2 separate regions of the Homo sapiens genome follow, and region 2 is linked to region 1. Evidence: promoter capture Hi-C in 16 types of primary human blood cells and fetal thymus (Javierre and others, 2016). All regions are on one chromosome and are shown on one strand. The core of a region is centred on a gene start or on the middle of the fragment in contact, and the rest is flanking DNA. Distances in the headings are between cores, read along the strand shown.

What was found. The method cuts DNA at HindIII sites, captures the fragments that hold promoters and counts their contacts. A CHiCAGO score of 5 or more calls a contact.
Region 2: the fragment with the promoter of BAZ2A here is called in contact with the fragment with the promoter of METTL1 in region 1 in 2 of 17 cell types (monocytes and naive CD4 T cells); the score reaches 6.8 in monocytes.

What each region holds. Positions count from the first base shown.
Region 1 is chr12:57,765,870-57,773,374 of GRCh38, reverse strand. METTL1 (methyltransferase 1, tRNA methylguanosine) reads left to right here and starts at 1,270. Exons shown (of 6, transcript NM_005371.6): 1 at 1,270-1,401; 2 at 2,118-2,281; 3 at 3,419-3,603; 4 at 3,697-3,810; 5 at 3,971-4,072; 6 at 4,224-4,904. The coding sequence starts at 1,292. The coding sequence ends at 4,379. EEF1AKMT3 (EEF1A lysine methyltransferase 3) reads right to left here and starts at 761. Exons shown (of 3, transcript NM_015433.3): 1 at 474-761; 2 at 247-358. The coding sequence starts at 650. CYP27B1 (cytochrome P450 family 27 subfamily B member 1) reads left to right here and starts at 6,297. Exons shown (of 9, transcript NM_000785.4): 1 at 6,297-6,528; 2 at 7,178-7,368. The coding sequence starts at 6,334. RefSeq lists enhancers at 597-1,106, 1,237-1,526, 1,212-2,411. The HindIII fragment of the contact is 5,954 bases long and covers 1-5,413 here.
Region 2 is chr12:56,627,205-56,634,709 of GRCh38, reverse strand. It overlaps BAZ2A (bromodomain adjacent to zinc finger domain 2A), which reads left to right and starts at 4,384. Exons shown (of 29, transcript NM_001300905.2): 1 at 4,384-4,585. RefSeq lists enhancers at 203-252, 1,479-1,528, 4,078-4,147, 4,178-4,227, 7,006-7,505 and a silencer at 4,448-4,797. The HindIII fragment of the contact is 7,835 bases long and covers 1-5,627 here.

The sequences.
Region 1 (7,505 bases), core at 21-2,520:
CTGAGTTTTATTTCCTGCCCTCCCCAATCACCCACCCTAGGTGCTTTGACAGGCAATTCGCGCTGTCTGGCACGCAGAAGCAGACGCCAAAATAAAAACAAAAACAAATTTTAAAAAAAAATTTGTTAAAAAGAAGGGGTTAGACTGGGCCCAAAGTTCTCCCCTCTCCCCCAAAGATCCACGAAGTGACCATTTCTCCGCGCCCCTGGGTCCCCACTCTCTCCCGTAAAAAGCCAGCTCACGCACCCTGCAGCGCTGCCAAGATCCCCACGATGCCTGTCCCCGCACCCAGTTCGATCACCTTCTTGCCTCGGAAATCCACATTTTGACTCTCGAAATAATTGCACAGGCTCAGGGCCTACGGGAGAAAAGACAGAGAAAAAGACAGTCGTGAGGATGGCTCCATATGGGAGAGGCGGAGTCCGGGATCTGGACCTCCCACGGACCCTCACCCGGCGCAGCCCATTCCTCACCGCGTCCCACACGCGCGCCGCCACCCCGAGGCGGGACCCAAAGTTCTGCGTGATGGTCAGCACATGCCCACAGAAACAGAACTGGCTCTTCTCCGAGTAAGAGTCTGCAAAGAGCCCGACCTCCCGCGGGAACACCGATTCCGACTCAGATTCGGGATCTGGGCCGGGGTCCGCCATCCGGCCCGCCAAGGGAGTGCCTGGGCACCGCGGCCGGCGCTCAGATCCCGGATCCGGAGCGGGGTAGAGGCTGGGGGCCGCGAGCCGTCGTGGTGTCCCTGTGGAACGAGCCCCGCCTCCCTGAGTTTGCCCTCCTTCCTCCAGTTCGATTTCCTGGAGGTGGAATGAGGAGCTGCCCCTCCCGCCCCGGCCCCGAGCGCACACTCGACGAAACCCACACGGGACCACAAGAGTCAGACCGGGCGGACTGGTCCGAGACCAGGAGTAAGGGGACAGGAGCGAGGACTGATGCCACTGTAGAAGGCGAGGTCTCTAGACCCCTCTCACCTGTGGGGTGCACAGGTGCCTGCAACCAGGATGGTAACCCAGACCAGGCAGAAGCAAGCTAAGAGAAAACGTTGGGTCCCTGGGCCTGGCCTCGCCCTCCCAGTTGGAGGCTAACGGTGCGGAGGTTCCCTCCAGCACTCGCTCCTTACAGCCCTCCCCACCTAGCCCAGCCCAGCCCAGCCCAGCCCAGCTGAATTTGCTCTTGGGTCTTTAAGGGGCGGGAACTGCCACCAACGCGCATGGCTGCGTCATTAACTTGCGCCTCTGGCCTGCGCCTCCACGTGGATTTGGTAGAGAAACCCCGGACTGGGATCATGGCAGCCGAGACTCGGAACGTGGCCGGAGCAGAGGCCCCACCGCCCCAGAAGCGCTACTACCGGCAACGTGCTCACTCCAACCCCATGGCGGACCACACGCTGCGCTAGTGAGGAGTGGGCAGAGGGAGAGAGAGGAGGGCGGGATTCTCAAAGCAGCCGGGAGAGCAGTTGTGCTGCAACTGCTGGGAGGATTTGGGGTAGACCCGGGAGGATCAGATGGGTGACGTCAGTTTTTGGGGGTGGGACCGGGAGATTCGACCGAGAGAGGAGTTGGCGGGTTGAGAGTGGGCGTGGCGTTCGGGCCTAAGTCTGGGTAGCGGTGCTAAGTTTGGGAAGAGAAATAAATTGTTACTGAGACTGAAGTGATAGAGGCAGAATGTCGTTTCCATCTTTTGCTTTTGTTTGTTGGATTTAATAAAAAGGCAAACATATACACAATCCTGCCCGCACCTTACCTTACCTTCCCTCCCCGCAGAGCACAAACACAAAGTAGGATCCCAGTGCATTAGGCAGCCAGTCTCGGGAGAAGGGGAACTTGTGCCCCAGAAAGGGCAGTTACCCGGCCAGGGTCACATCAACCGCCAGAAGTGGAGTTGGGCAGGTCAGCGTTTATGGGCCTCATGATGGTCCTATGATTCACACTGGGAGTTAAGGGTGGTTTCCATTGTCCCTCTTAGAGGCCACAGGGCCCAGTGTTACAGAATTTTTGAGAAACCCTCCTCCCTTTTACCTCCCACCCTCACCCACCCACACACTCTCACAGTACCACTTCTGCAATGGTGTGACCAACCTTCTCATGCTTCTTATGTCTTCTTTCCAATAGCCCTGTGAAGCCAGAGGAGATGGACTGGTCTGAGCTATACCCAGAGTTCTTCGCTCCACTCACTCAAAATCAGAGCCACGATGACCCAAAGGATAAGAAAGAAAAGAGAGCTCAGGCCCAAGTGGAGTTTGCAGACATAGGCTGTGGCTATGGTGGCCTGTTAGGTAACACTCAGGCCCTCTTTTTGGGGTGAGAAGAGGCCTAGTAGCTTCTGCTGCCTCAGCAACTTTTGTGGGGGGTCATAATTGGCCTTTCCCCTTTCGTCCAGACACTGGTGACATCAGCATGGAGAGGCTCCACCTACCCTCTACTCTGGGTCTGTGACCTTTGCCCTGGAGAGTGGAGGGGGCTGCCTCAAATGCTTCTTAAAACCTGGGTTGTCCTTTCTGGCGTCAATCCCTACATGAGCCATTTCATCTGCCAGGTTCCGGGTCAGTGAGCTGGTCAGCACAAGCATCAGAGATTAGCCGTTGTGGCCAGTGATCCTGAACTGTCTTTTCTCAGAGATTCTACCATCTCCCCTCCCCTTTGCCCCTCCCTCGCCAGATCTCATTCCTTCTGCCCCACTCTCCTGTTTTTTGGGTTCCTCTTGTATTGTCTGTATTGTCCCACCCATGCATGCCAAGCCACTCCCTATTTTTAGATCTTCCCAAACAGATAACAGCCTGATAGAGAAGAAGAGCATGGTACATAGAGGCAGAAAACCTTGGTTTAAGGTCCAGTTCTGCCTGGGCACAGTGGCTCACACCTGTAATCCCAACACTTTGGGAGGCTGAGGCAGGTGGACCACTTGAGGCCAGGAGTTCAAGACCAGCTACTCAGGAGGCTGAGGCAGGAGAATTACTTGAACCTGGGAGGCAGAGATTGCAGTGAGCCAAGATTGTGCCACTGCACTCCAGCCTGGGTGACAGAGCAAGACTCCATCTCAAATAAATAAGTTCCAGTTCTGCCCCTTCTTAACTCTATGATCTTCGGCATATCTGACCCTCAGTTTCCTTATCTTCACAATTTACCACAGAGTGTTATAAGGATGAAATAACACAATGTGTGAAAACACTGTGGAAAACTCTAAAGCAATGGCAAATATACATGTATCCTCAGCCCTCCCATTCTGGTCCTGGTGACAATTTTCATTTCTCCCCCCGCCTCTTGAGCATAAAACTATCCATATATGTATCTCTGTCCTCTCTTGCCGTTCTGGACTTTGGTAGTTGCAGGTTGAGGCTTCCTTTCCTGTGTTGACCCCTTTGCACTTCCTACAAGTATATGGTTGATGATTCCATTGCTATTTCTGTGTGCAGTGGAACTGTCACCGCTGTTCCCAGACACACTTATTCTGGGTCTGGAGATCCGGGTGAAGGTCTCAGACTATGTACAAGACCGGATTCGGGCCCTACGCGCAGCTCCTGCAGGTGGCTTCCAGAACATCGCCTGTCTCCGTAGCAATGCCATGAAGCACCTTCCTAACTTCTTCTACAAGGGCCAGGTGGGGAGGGGCCCTGGTGGGTTAGGCTGGTAGGCAGGTGGGGGCATGGAGGCCAGGCTCTCACAACCCTGTTGGTGTGTGTCTGTCTCACAGCTGACAAAGATGTTCTTCCTCTTCCCCGACCCACATTTCAAGCGGACAAAGCACAAGTGGCGAATCATCAGTCCCACCCTGCTAGCAGAATATGCCTACGTGCTAAGAGTTGGGGTGAGTTGGGATCGGAGGGATGATGGGGTGAGTGGCCTACTCAGGGGCCCTTCACTAAGAATTCAGTGGGGGTGCATTTAGGGACTCACACCACCACTTCCTTCATCTGGCTGCTGACGTTGCATGCAGCCTCCTGTCTAGGGTGATTTTGCCTATGCAGGGGCTGGTGTATACCATAACCGATGTGCTGGAGCTACACGACTGGATGTGCACTCATTTCGAAGAGCACCCACTGTTTGAGCGTGTGCCTCTGGAGGACCTGGTGAGTAGGGGACCTAGAGGAGGTGGAGGCCCTTTCCAGAGTGGTTCTGTATTTGGACTTAACTCAGTGCCAGGAGGATGGGATAGGTGTCTAAGGGCCAGGGGCAGTCTGAACAGTGGGCAAGGACTTATTGGACCCTTCCTTCTCCCAGAGTGAAGACCCCGTTGTGGGACATCTAGGCACCTCAACTGAGGAGGGGAAGAAAGTTCTACGTAATGGAGGGAAGAATTTCCCAGCCATCTTCCGAAGAATACAAGATCCCGTCCTCCAGGCAGTGACCTCCCAAACCAGCCTGCCTGGTCACTGACTGCTTACTCTACCTTAGCTGGACCTCGTCTCCCAGGGATTAGAGAAAAGAGCAGGAGTCCTGGGTCTTCCCAGTTGAGACTGCTGGAGCTGAGACACAGTACTCTCTTAAAGAAGGTGGGGAGCTGCCCAGGGCAGAACCCACTGGTGTTCATGACTACCCCTGGCTCCTCTCACCTTGTCCCTCCACTGCCAACAGAAAACAAAGCAGCTGACTGAGATGGTCAAAGGACTTTGGACCATAGGGGATCTTTGGAAGGCTGTGGGGTCTTGCTCTTCCTTAGCACTCCTTTCTCCTTGTGAGATCTCTCCTCAGCTGGAATGAGGAATGTAGTCCATCTAAACTGCTTGCTAGGCTCAATTACCACTTCTGTTTGCTTTGTGGATCCTGGGATAACATGTATATGTGTACACATGCCTATTCTGCCATTTCTCAGGAAAGGGTGGAGTATGTATCATATGCCTTCTACCATCCTCCTGTCCTCTCCCTGCGTAAGACTTGACCTGGGGAATCTGTGTTCCCTAAGTGTTGTCTCTGGAGAGTCCTTGGGAAGGTGTGGGGGTGGAGACCCTCTCCTTTTTCACATTGACCTTCAATTCCAGAACTTCAGAGCTAGCTGACTGGCACAGAGCCTGATAGAGTTGCAGTGGGGAATGAGGGAGTAAGGAGCAGAGAGGTAAACTGTGGGAGATTCTTTTATTTTAATTTTTTTTAGAGACAGGCCCTCTCTCTGTTGCCTAGGCTGGAGTGCAGTGGTACAATCATAACTCACTGCAGCCTTGACCTCCCGGGCTCATGTAATCCACCTCAGCCTCTCAAGGCACTACAGGCATACGCCACCATGCCTGGCTAATTTTTGTATTTTTTGTAGAGACAGTTCCACTATGTTGCCCAGGCTGGTCTCAGACTCCTGAGCTCAAGCAGTCTGCCCACCTTAGCCTCCCAAAGTGTTGGGATTACAGTCATGAGCTGCCGTGCCCAGCCTAATTTTTAAACTTCTTCTGTAGAGACAGTCTTGCTATGTTGCTCAAGCTTGTCTCAACCTCCTGGCCTCATGCCATCCTCCTGCCTCAGCCTCCCAAAGTGCTGGGATTATAGGCATGAGCCACCACAGGATTCTGAGGCTAAAAGTAGAAAGGAGCTGCTAACCAGAAAGCCCCCCAGAGGAGACCGAGTCAGCTGGGGAATTAGAACATCCACATCCATTTAGCTCCTCTAACACCCCACAGACAATCTCTGAACTTAACTAATGTACAAAAAGTTTCATTTCTGCTTCTCAAGCCCCAAATTCCCATGTCTGGAAGGAGGGGGCTTGTATACCCAAGAGACCCCCTTATCCTCAAGAAAGAAAGATGGAGGTTCTAGGAGCCATTTTAGCCCATTAACCCACCTGCCATCTGCCCAGTATATGTTAGGTACAGGAGGAGGGGGAGGTGTGGCTAGTGCAGGAAAATAATGCAGAGAAGATACAACCCACTAAGCCAAGAATGTGGGGACAGTTACAGCTGTGCCTCCCCTGCTTCCCTTCCTGGAGGAGCTGAAAGATGGGGAATTCCTGAGGATGGGCCTAAAGGGGCTGGGCTCACTGGTAGAAGTGGGAATATCAGAGACTGACTAGTGTAGCTTGGTCACCTAGTCCCTACTAAAAAGCCTTATAGCCTTTCCTAGGATGAGACTTTGAGGCTCCTAGACAAAGGCACTCTCCCAGGAGGAAAATCTTAGGCCCTCCCTCCCATGAGGGTCATTGCAACATGAGACCCAAGGGAGTTGTGAAGTCAGCCCCAGCCCCGCCTACTGTTCCTGGGTGCTAATCCCCAGCACAGACCACTCAGGAGGAGGGATTGGCTGAGGAGCTTGGAGAGGGGGCGTCATCACCTCACCCAAAGGTTAAATAGGGGTTGAGATATGATGCTCAGGAGAAGCGCTTTCTTTCGCGAGCACCCTGAACCAGACCATGACCCAGACCCTCAAGTACGCCTCCAGAGTGTTCCATCGCGTCCGCTGGGCGCCCGAGTTGGGCGCCTCCCTAGGCTACCGAGAGTACCACTCAGCACGCCGGAGCTTGGCAGACATCCCAGGCCCCTCTACGCCCAGCTTTCTGGCCGAACTTTTCTGCAAGGGGGGGCTGTCGAGGCTACACGAGCTGCAGGTAGGAAGGGACGCCTTTCCCGAGACAGAGTGCTGGGGAAACTGGTTTTGACAGCGTCAGAAAGGACTGACTAGTGCAGAGCAAATGTGGGACAGCCAGAGAGAACGGATGCCCATGAAATAAGGAAAAGGCGAGTTGAGGCTGGGGGCGGTGTGGCTACACTCGGGCAGAGCCCGTCCCGACTCTTAGCAGAGGGCGCTGCGAAAGCGCCTTCTCGCTGTCCTGAGGTGTGGAGATCCTGCAGATAAAGTACAAGTGCGCGGGAGGGGGAGGCCGGAGTGGGCAGTACCCTCCGCCTGCTTGCGGCTTAAAGCTACATGGGTTCCTTTTCATTCACTGAGGACTCGTCCTGAGATGGACAGTCCAGACATGGAACTTTTAGAGATTTCTCCTCGACCGAGATGATCAGAGAGGTCCTGAATGTCTGCCTTGCACAAAGTTCCGGTTTTGCCCATCACACTCAAACTTTCTAGGGATGGGAAATGAGAGAGGAGGAGTTTGCAGTATCAAAGGCATACACTAGTTGGGCACCCGAGAAAGAGCAGAAGCTCCCTATTCCCAAGCCCAGTCAACGCCCTTGGCGTGGGCACAGGTCAAGCTGAAAGTCCCCGCCCAGGTATCCAAGTGTCCGCTGTGTCCGCTCCCCCAGGTGCAGGGCGCCGCGCACTTCGGGCCGGTGTGGCTAGCCAGCTTTGGGACAGTGCGCACCGTGTACGTGGCTGCCCCTGCACTCGTCGAGGAGCTGCTGCGACAGGAGGGACCCCGGCCCGAGCGCTGCAGCTTCTCGCCCTGGACGGAGCACCGCCGCTGCCGCCAGCGGGCTTGCGGACTGCTCACTGCGTGAGTCTTCTCTGCCCCCAGAAGCCCAGACGCCCTGCAGCGGCCCTCTCCTGCTGCGGGTCCCGAAACTATCAATCTGGGGGCATGGTGGGAGGTCGGCTGTCCCACTCTACCATTGGGCATCTTGGGGTTCCCAT
Region 2 (7,505 bases), core at 3,135-5,634, 1.1 Mb after region 1:
CTGGGCCCAGGATCTCCCCCTCCCCCGCGCCTTCTTCGCCAGAAAAATCTCCCGCGGTCTGGGTTTCGCCTCCTCCCCTCTGAACTAGCGCTTTCCCACGCCTTCCTAACCCCAATGGGAGGGGGGATACCCACCCCAACTCCTCTCCTTCCCCGTAGTAAGGGGGGCGGGGGAGCAACATCGACAGCACTATCTGTCCCTGCTCCGCTCAGCCCTTTAAGTTCAGCTAAGTCCCATCTAAACCTTTTCTGTAGTCCTCACCCCACCCTACATCTCCGGGAGCTTGGGGTCCAACCTCAGCACCGCCTACTGAGCCCAGGTGGGAAGGACTCTCCTCCTGGGCCTAGGGTTGGTCGGTGCAGCCTAGGAAGGCCCCTCCCCCAGAACCTGGGAGCTGGGGGCCAGGGCGCTGCCGGAATCTTGTGCTTCAGGGCCTCAGGGACAGTTGGGAGAGAGTGCGTGGGGAGCTGGGGCTAAATCTCTAAGGGAGTTGGGGCGATGGGGAAGGCAAGAGAAGTCCAGTCTTCTCTGTTCAGATGCAAAGGAAGCCCCCCGACTCCCTAGGAAATAGGGGCTTTCTCTAACTTCCAGGACCACCATAGAGAATCCCATTGGGAAGTTTGGAAACAAGTCTGTGTGAATCTGAGGAGCCACCTGTCGACTTAAAGGGGAGAAGGGGGCCGGGTGGAGTGTGCTCGCCTGTAATCCCAGTACTTTGGGAGGCCAAGGTGGGCAGATCACTTGAGGTCAGGAGTTCGAAACCAGCTTGGGCAACATGGCAAAACCTTGTCTCTACAAAATATACAAAAATTAGCCAGTCGTGGTGGCGTGTGCCTGTAATCCCAGCTACTATCGCTTGAACCTGGCAGGCTGGAACCTGGCAGGCGTAGGTTGCAGCGAGCTGAGATCACAACACTGCATTCTGGCCTGGGTGACAGAGCAAGACTGTCTCAAAACAAAACAAAACAAACAAACAAACAAAAGTGGGGGAAGAAGGGGAGGGGTGTTTTCCTTGTGATGTGTTATGGGAGAATCTAGCCTTCCCAGATTGTAGAGGGGGTGAAGACTTTTGCTTTAACCTGGTGGGGGGGTCTAGTTGGAATGGTTACCCGGCTAAGAGCCATCTCCCTGCTAGACAGATCCTGTTAACAGTATGATCCATTCAGCCAGTGAGGGGAAGGCAGGTCTTTAATAATTATCCCACCTCCATTAGAGAATTCCCCCTCCACCCCCAGTCCAGCTGCGCCCCTAGCTATGCTCTTTCATTTCCCACTCCTCACTTCCAGAATTAGGGGACTGGCTGCCAAGATCTGCTTCAGACTCTTCTAAGTCATGTTTGGAGGGGGTGCTGGGGGGAGGAGAGGGTGTTCAGCAGTGGTGTTTGGGGTTGGATGCCAGGAGTATCTGGTGGGGGAGAGGGAAGGATGTAGAGGGATGCAAACGAATCCCCTTCTCTCTCTTCCTCCTCCCAGCCCTAGCCATCTGGCTACAGAGTGGAGCCAGGCACTGTGGCAGCTGACCCCAGAGTCAGGGAGGTGCTGCAGGAACACAGGGAGGGTGAGAAAGGGGGTGCAGGTGCTAATTTGTCCCTCCCCATTCTCTTCATGACTAGTCCACTGGCCTGGCTTGAGGGAGGTTCAGCCTATTCCCTGGAGACTCTCCTTACAAGTTGCTGATAAAATGACCATTTGCCCCTTCCCCTTTCTAGTAGCTTCCTGAAGGGAAATGGGTGGGGAAAAGAGAGGTGGGTGGGTGATCAGCCACATCTGATGGGATTGAGGAGTGTTTCGGGACATTTGGGGTCAGTCTGCCCTCTCTCGTCTGGATGGGGGGAGAAGCACAGCTGCAGCATGGGGTGACTTCTAGCAAGAAGTAAACATCCAGCTGTTGGGCACACTGTCACCCCAACCTCATCCTTCCTCAGAGCAAGGAAGATCCTGATTAGATGAGATGAGGTGGGGTCTCATTCAGGAATGAGGATGATTGTAGTCTTTCTGCACCAGATGGGAAGAATGGATCCTACCTCATTTTCTTTTCTAATCCCAAGTGGTCCTCTCCTATCCAACACCCCTCTTCCTAACCGCTCCTGGCTGGAATAGTCCTAAAGGTTGCCCTGGAGACTAGGCCTGGGGCTCGGAAGGGGTGGGGGCGGTCAGTGGGGCACAGGAGTAACCGGCTCTTCCGGAGCAGAGTGGAGCCAGTGGTGGGTGTGTGTGGGTGTGGGGAGGGGCGTGGCTACACCCGTCTGACGGGCGCAGGCTCCTCCCCTGCCTGCCCAGTCCCCGACTGGCCCCCTTTAAGATTGGGAGCAGGAGGTAGGAAGATTCTCCCTCATCTGCTCTGGAAAAGGGCAGGGAAGACAAAAGGATACCAGCTTCCTTACCCACACCCCCATCCCGCCGCCCTTGAGGCCTCAGTTTTATGCCTTTCTTCACCTGCCTTAATTTTTTATTTGGGGATAGAGAGGCATTTCTTAGCAGAAGTTTGCCAGAGCCCTCCTTTCTCCAGAAGGAAGGAAACCTCTACCCTGAGTGTGACCTCTACTTACTCAGGGACTTGAGGTCAGCAGGCTGTTGGAGGAGTATTTTTTTTTCCCCAAGGTGACCTGTAAATCTGTTGTTTTGACAGGGAGGAGAGAAGGGTTTTGGTTTCCACCTGCCTATTCCCTCCACTGGTAATCTACTTATCTCGAGAGAGGAAGAGAAACCCCCTTAGCCTTCTGTGTCTGTGGCCCACACACTCTGTGAGCCTTTGCTAAAGCTAGCTTCCTTCTTATCCTCTCTGAGCCATTTGTAGTGGGGGGGTGGAGGGGTGGAGTCTTTCCCCAAAATTCAGGAAGAGCCCACCCCTCTGTGGAGTAAGGAAATCCAATGTAGACTGATGGATCTCACCCCCCAACTCTGCCCATTTTTCAGATCTCTTTCCTCCTCAGACCCCCAGAGGAAAACGTATTTGTTGACACCCCAACTTGCCAGAGTTTCATCATCCCCACTCTGTTGCTTTTCCAGAATATTCAGCAGCCTGAGCTTTGCACAGTTTAGGCAACTGTTTCTAGAACTGCATTGCATTGAATTAAATGGGAATTATCTTCAAGGCTGCAAAGTGTTGAGTTGCAAGGAAAGGAAACCTGGTTTCCTTTCTTGTCATATTTTATCCACTGTTTGACATTGAAGAAGTCATTGAACCTCTTTGGGTCTTAATTTCTTCATTTGATGAAGGAGAGAAGGTTGAACTAGAATTTTTTTTTTTTTTTTTTTTTGAGATAGAGTCTCCCTCTGTCACCCAGGCTGGAGTGCAATGGCGCGATCTCAGTTCACTGCAACCTCCACCTCCCAGGTTCAAGCGATTCTCTTGCCTCGGCCTCCTGAGTAGCTGAGATTACAGGGGCACGCCACCACACCCAGCTAATTTTTGTATTTTTAGTAGAGACCGGGTTTCATCATGTTGGTCAGGCTGGTCTTGAACTCCTGACATCATGATCCACCTGCCTCGGCCTCCCAAAGTGCTGGGATTACAGCCGTGAGCCACCGCGTCCGGCCTGAACTAGAAATTCTCTAAGCTCTAACATCATATGACACTGTTCTTCATCCTGGTGCCCTGCAGTGGACATTTTAGGTGACAGCCAAACTCTAGTCCTCTGCTAGATTTTACTTTTCTGAGTTTTCACACAGTTATGTAGCCCTGTCAGAAAAAAATTCCCAGAACCATAGAATGGGTGGACATTTGTGGCATCTTTTTGCTGATTAGTTTTCAGCTTATCCTTTACTTCTCTGACTGCATTTAGGCTACACTCAGGTCTTTGCTGTCTGGTTCCAGAGCCGAACCTTCTTTCCCCCACGCACAGGAATCTTTCCTTTCCGGTGACCAGGGCCCTGCAGATGTCGCCAGGAAAGTGGTGATCCAGGCAGGACCAGGCTGCACTGAAGGGACAGAGGTGAGTGGGTGGCTGACTCTTGCCTCTCCCCATCCCTTTACTGAATCGCGACCTGAGTGACTAACCTTTCTATTTCCACGTTTCCATTACCCTACCTGGGAAATAACTGCCCCCGAAATTCCCCTGACTCTTACCCCTACCAGCCTGTTAGAGAAGTGGCACCTGCCTTTGGGCCTAGACGTTTGGTCTAGTCTTTTAAGTTAACCTTGGGACTGTGGCATGCCTTTCAGTTTGCCCTGTGTGAAGCAGGACCACTGCCTCCATGAGATGCGGGTGCAGAGGGAGCTGCCAGGTGGGCAAGGTGGCCAGAGTTGCAGGAGGCACAGCGGCGCTAGGACCCAGGTCCGGGTCGGAAAGATGGGCTGGCGGGCTTTAGGACCCTGTGGCGGAGGCCGCGTGGGGAGACTCTCTCCCGGCCGAGGCTTCTCCGCCCCCTCCGGCTCCGACTCACTCCTCCCCCGCCGGCCATGTTGGCTCCTCTCGGGCCCCGCGGTTGAGCCGCGTCCCCCTCCCCCTTCCCGAACCCCGGACCCCAGACCCCCTCCCCAGCGGGCGTCTCCACCCGTTCTGGCGCCCGGAGCGCGGCCATGTGAACCGCTTGTACCCCGGGGAGAGACGAGCCCCGAGCCCGGCTGGACGCCGCTGCCTCAGGTTTGTGGGGTCTGTGGCCAGGGGCCTGAGGGGGAGGGAGCCCCGCTTTCATCCGAGGCTTCCCTCGGGGAACAGAAGCTCCAGAGCCGGCTTGAGCCTTGCCGGGGCGGGAAGCCGACGGGAGCTTATTTCCTGCGAGGATCCAACCCGAGGCGAGGGTCTCCTTGCTCTGGGGTCTGGGAGGAGAACAGGGCTGGTGGGGCTGCTGAGGACCCCGGACGGGGCCGCGGGGGCAGGAGGAGCTGTAGGGGCTCCCGGCGACAGTGAGGAGGCGGAGAAGCCGCCTGGCTGGTGGAGATGACTCCTGTGGGGGACTTGGGGTGGAATCCCCGGGAGGGGCTCCACCTCCTCGGGTGGGGGTGGGGATTGCCTGAGCGCGAGGGGTGGGTGAGGGGGTTCCCTTGGCGGGTTAAAACGCTCCGTTTGCGGGGAGCTGGGCGTTTTGACTGTGGTGAGTGGAGGGCGGAAGGGGTTTCCAGGGGTCTGAGGGTGTCTCCCTCGGGGAGCGCACCCATTCTCTTGAGCGTGAAGATCAGGAGAGGGCCTTCCTTGCTGAGGGTGGTGCTGCGCTTGGCTTGGGGCCCTCGCGTCCCGGGAGAATCGCGCACTCCGGGGATGGAGGTTGATAGGGCTTCCGCTGAGGCTTTCCAATTTGAGCTGGGCTGAGGGGCAGAAGGGAAGAATAAAGAGGAATTCCTTTTTCCAAGGAGATTCCTCACTGAGGGGATCCCCGCTTCCGTGGCAGAAAGATGATACCGCATCATCCCTTTCTTTCCCGGTGTTCCCAGTTTTCAGGAGAAGGCAATGTCAATAGCAGTTGTCCTTTGTAGGGTTAATTGGAGTGAGAGATTTGTCTGCTTTGGGGGACGACGGAGGGGATAGCTTTCCACCTCTATCTGTACACAAACAGCCCCTCCCCCAGCCTCCCGCAGGAAGTGGCCGGGAAATGGCAGCTGTGCGTTTGCTGCTGCGTGTCTTGTTGTTTTGAAATGTCCATTTTAATCAGATTTGGTTTCATTTTCTGAAGCCTTCTGGGCAAGCTTGGATCTTGCCAACCATGTGGCCCGAGAGACCTTTCGTTGGACTTTTTTTTTTTTTGTAAACTTGTCAACTGGAAGTAGTCAACTTCAGTTGACTCACGTATCCCAATCCCTTCTCCAGAACATCTCTGTCTTCCTGTCTGGTTTCGTTTTGTTTTCCCTTTAGCTAGAGGTCATAGAGAAGCAAACTCAGTTATCTACCAGCGGGGTACGCTCTATGTAAGTGATGCAAATTCCCTCAGCATAGAGAGCTGTCAGGGAGACTAGAGAGCTTTTGTGGCACGAGTAGCTTCTTGGGGTCCTACTTTAGTATAGTTATTATGACAGTTTCTATATTGCAGAGCACCTGAGCAAGTGAGCTTGTGAAGAAGGGTAGATTCTAAGAAATGGACGAAGAGGAAGGGGTGAGGAAGATTTAACTATTAGATGGATTTGTGTGTCGGGGGTAGGGACTGATTAACAGACTGAGATTGGTGAACTCAGTCCTTGGTGGTGATTCTAGCCTAAGGGCAGCCCCTGTGGGAAGCTTGTTATTTGACTAAGGGGTGCTGGAGATACTACCTTCTGCAGAATCAACTAATTAGAATAGTACAGTTTGTTATCATATGACTTACTCTTTAATCCATAAAAGAACGTCTCCCCTCTTATTCTTCTTGGAGATTGGTAAGCTTTTCCTCTGTTCCCTGCAAAGTCGTGCCCAGATTTTTTTTTTCTTTCTTTTCACTTGATAATCCCAGGATATTTCTCCTGTAACATATAGTGATGGACTGTGTGCTATGTCCCCAGGCATTTTGTGGCACACTGGATTTGGTTAGGGGCAACAGTTGGCCACAGAATTTTATTTTTCTTTCTTTTCTTTTTCTTTTCTTTTTTTTTCTTTCTGTCTTTTTTTTTTTTTTTTTTTTTTGAGACGGAGTTTTGCTTTTGTCGCCCAGGCTGGAGTGGTGTGATCTTGTCTCACTGCAACCTCTGCCTCCCGGGTTCAAGCGAGTTGCCTGTCTCAGCCTCCCGAGTAGCTGGGATTACAGGAGCCCGCCACCGCATCCAGCTAATTATTTTATTTTTAGTAGAGACGGCGTTTCATCATGTTGGCCAGGCTGGTCTCGAATTCCTGACCTCAGGTGATCTACCCACCTCGGCCTCCCAAAGTGCAGGGATTACAGGTGTGAGCCACCATGCCTGGTCTTCTCTTCTTTTCTTTTTTTTCTCTTCTCTCTCTCTTTTCTTTTCTCTTTCTTTCTTTCTTTTTTTTTTTTTTTGAGACAGGGTCTCACTCCGATGCCCAGGCTGGAGTGCAGTGGCGCCATCATAGCTCACTGCAGCCCCGACCTCTTTGGCTCAAGTGATCCTCCCACCTCAGCCCCCTGAGTAGCTGGGACCACAGACACGCACCACCACATCCAGCTAATTTTTTGTAATTTTTGTAGAGGTGGGGTTTTGCCAGTTTGCACAGGCTGGTCTTGAACTCCTGGGCTCAAGTGACCTGCCTGCCTTAGCCTCCCAAAGTACTGAGATTACAGGCATGAGCCACCATGCCCGGCCTATGACCCCAGGACCACAGGATTTTAGATTTTGAAAGATAAAGTTTTGTTTTTTTCTTTTTCTTTTTTTTTTTTTTTGAGATGGAGTCTCGCTCTGTTGCCCAGGCTGGAGTACGGTGGCACCATCTGGACTCACTGCAACCCTCGCCTCCCAGGTTCAAGCGATCCTCCTGCCTCAGCCCTCCAGTAGCTGGAATTACAGGCATGCGCCACCATGCCTGGCTAATTTTTGTATTTTTAGTAGAGAAGGGGTTTCACCATGTTGGTCAGGCTGGTCTCGAACTCGAATTGAGCCTCCCAAAGTGCTGGGGTTACAGGCATAAGCCACAGGGCCAAGCC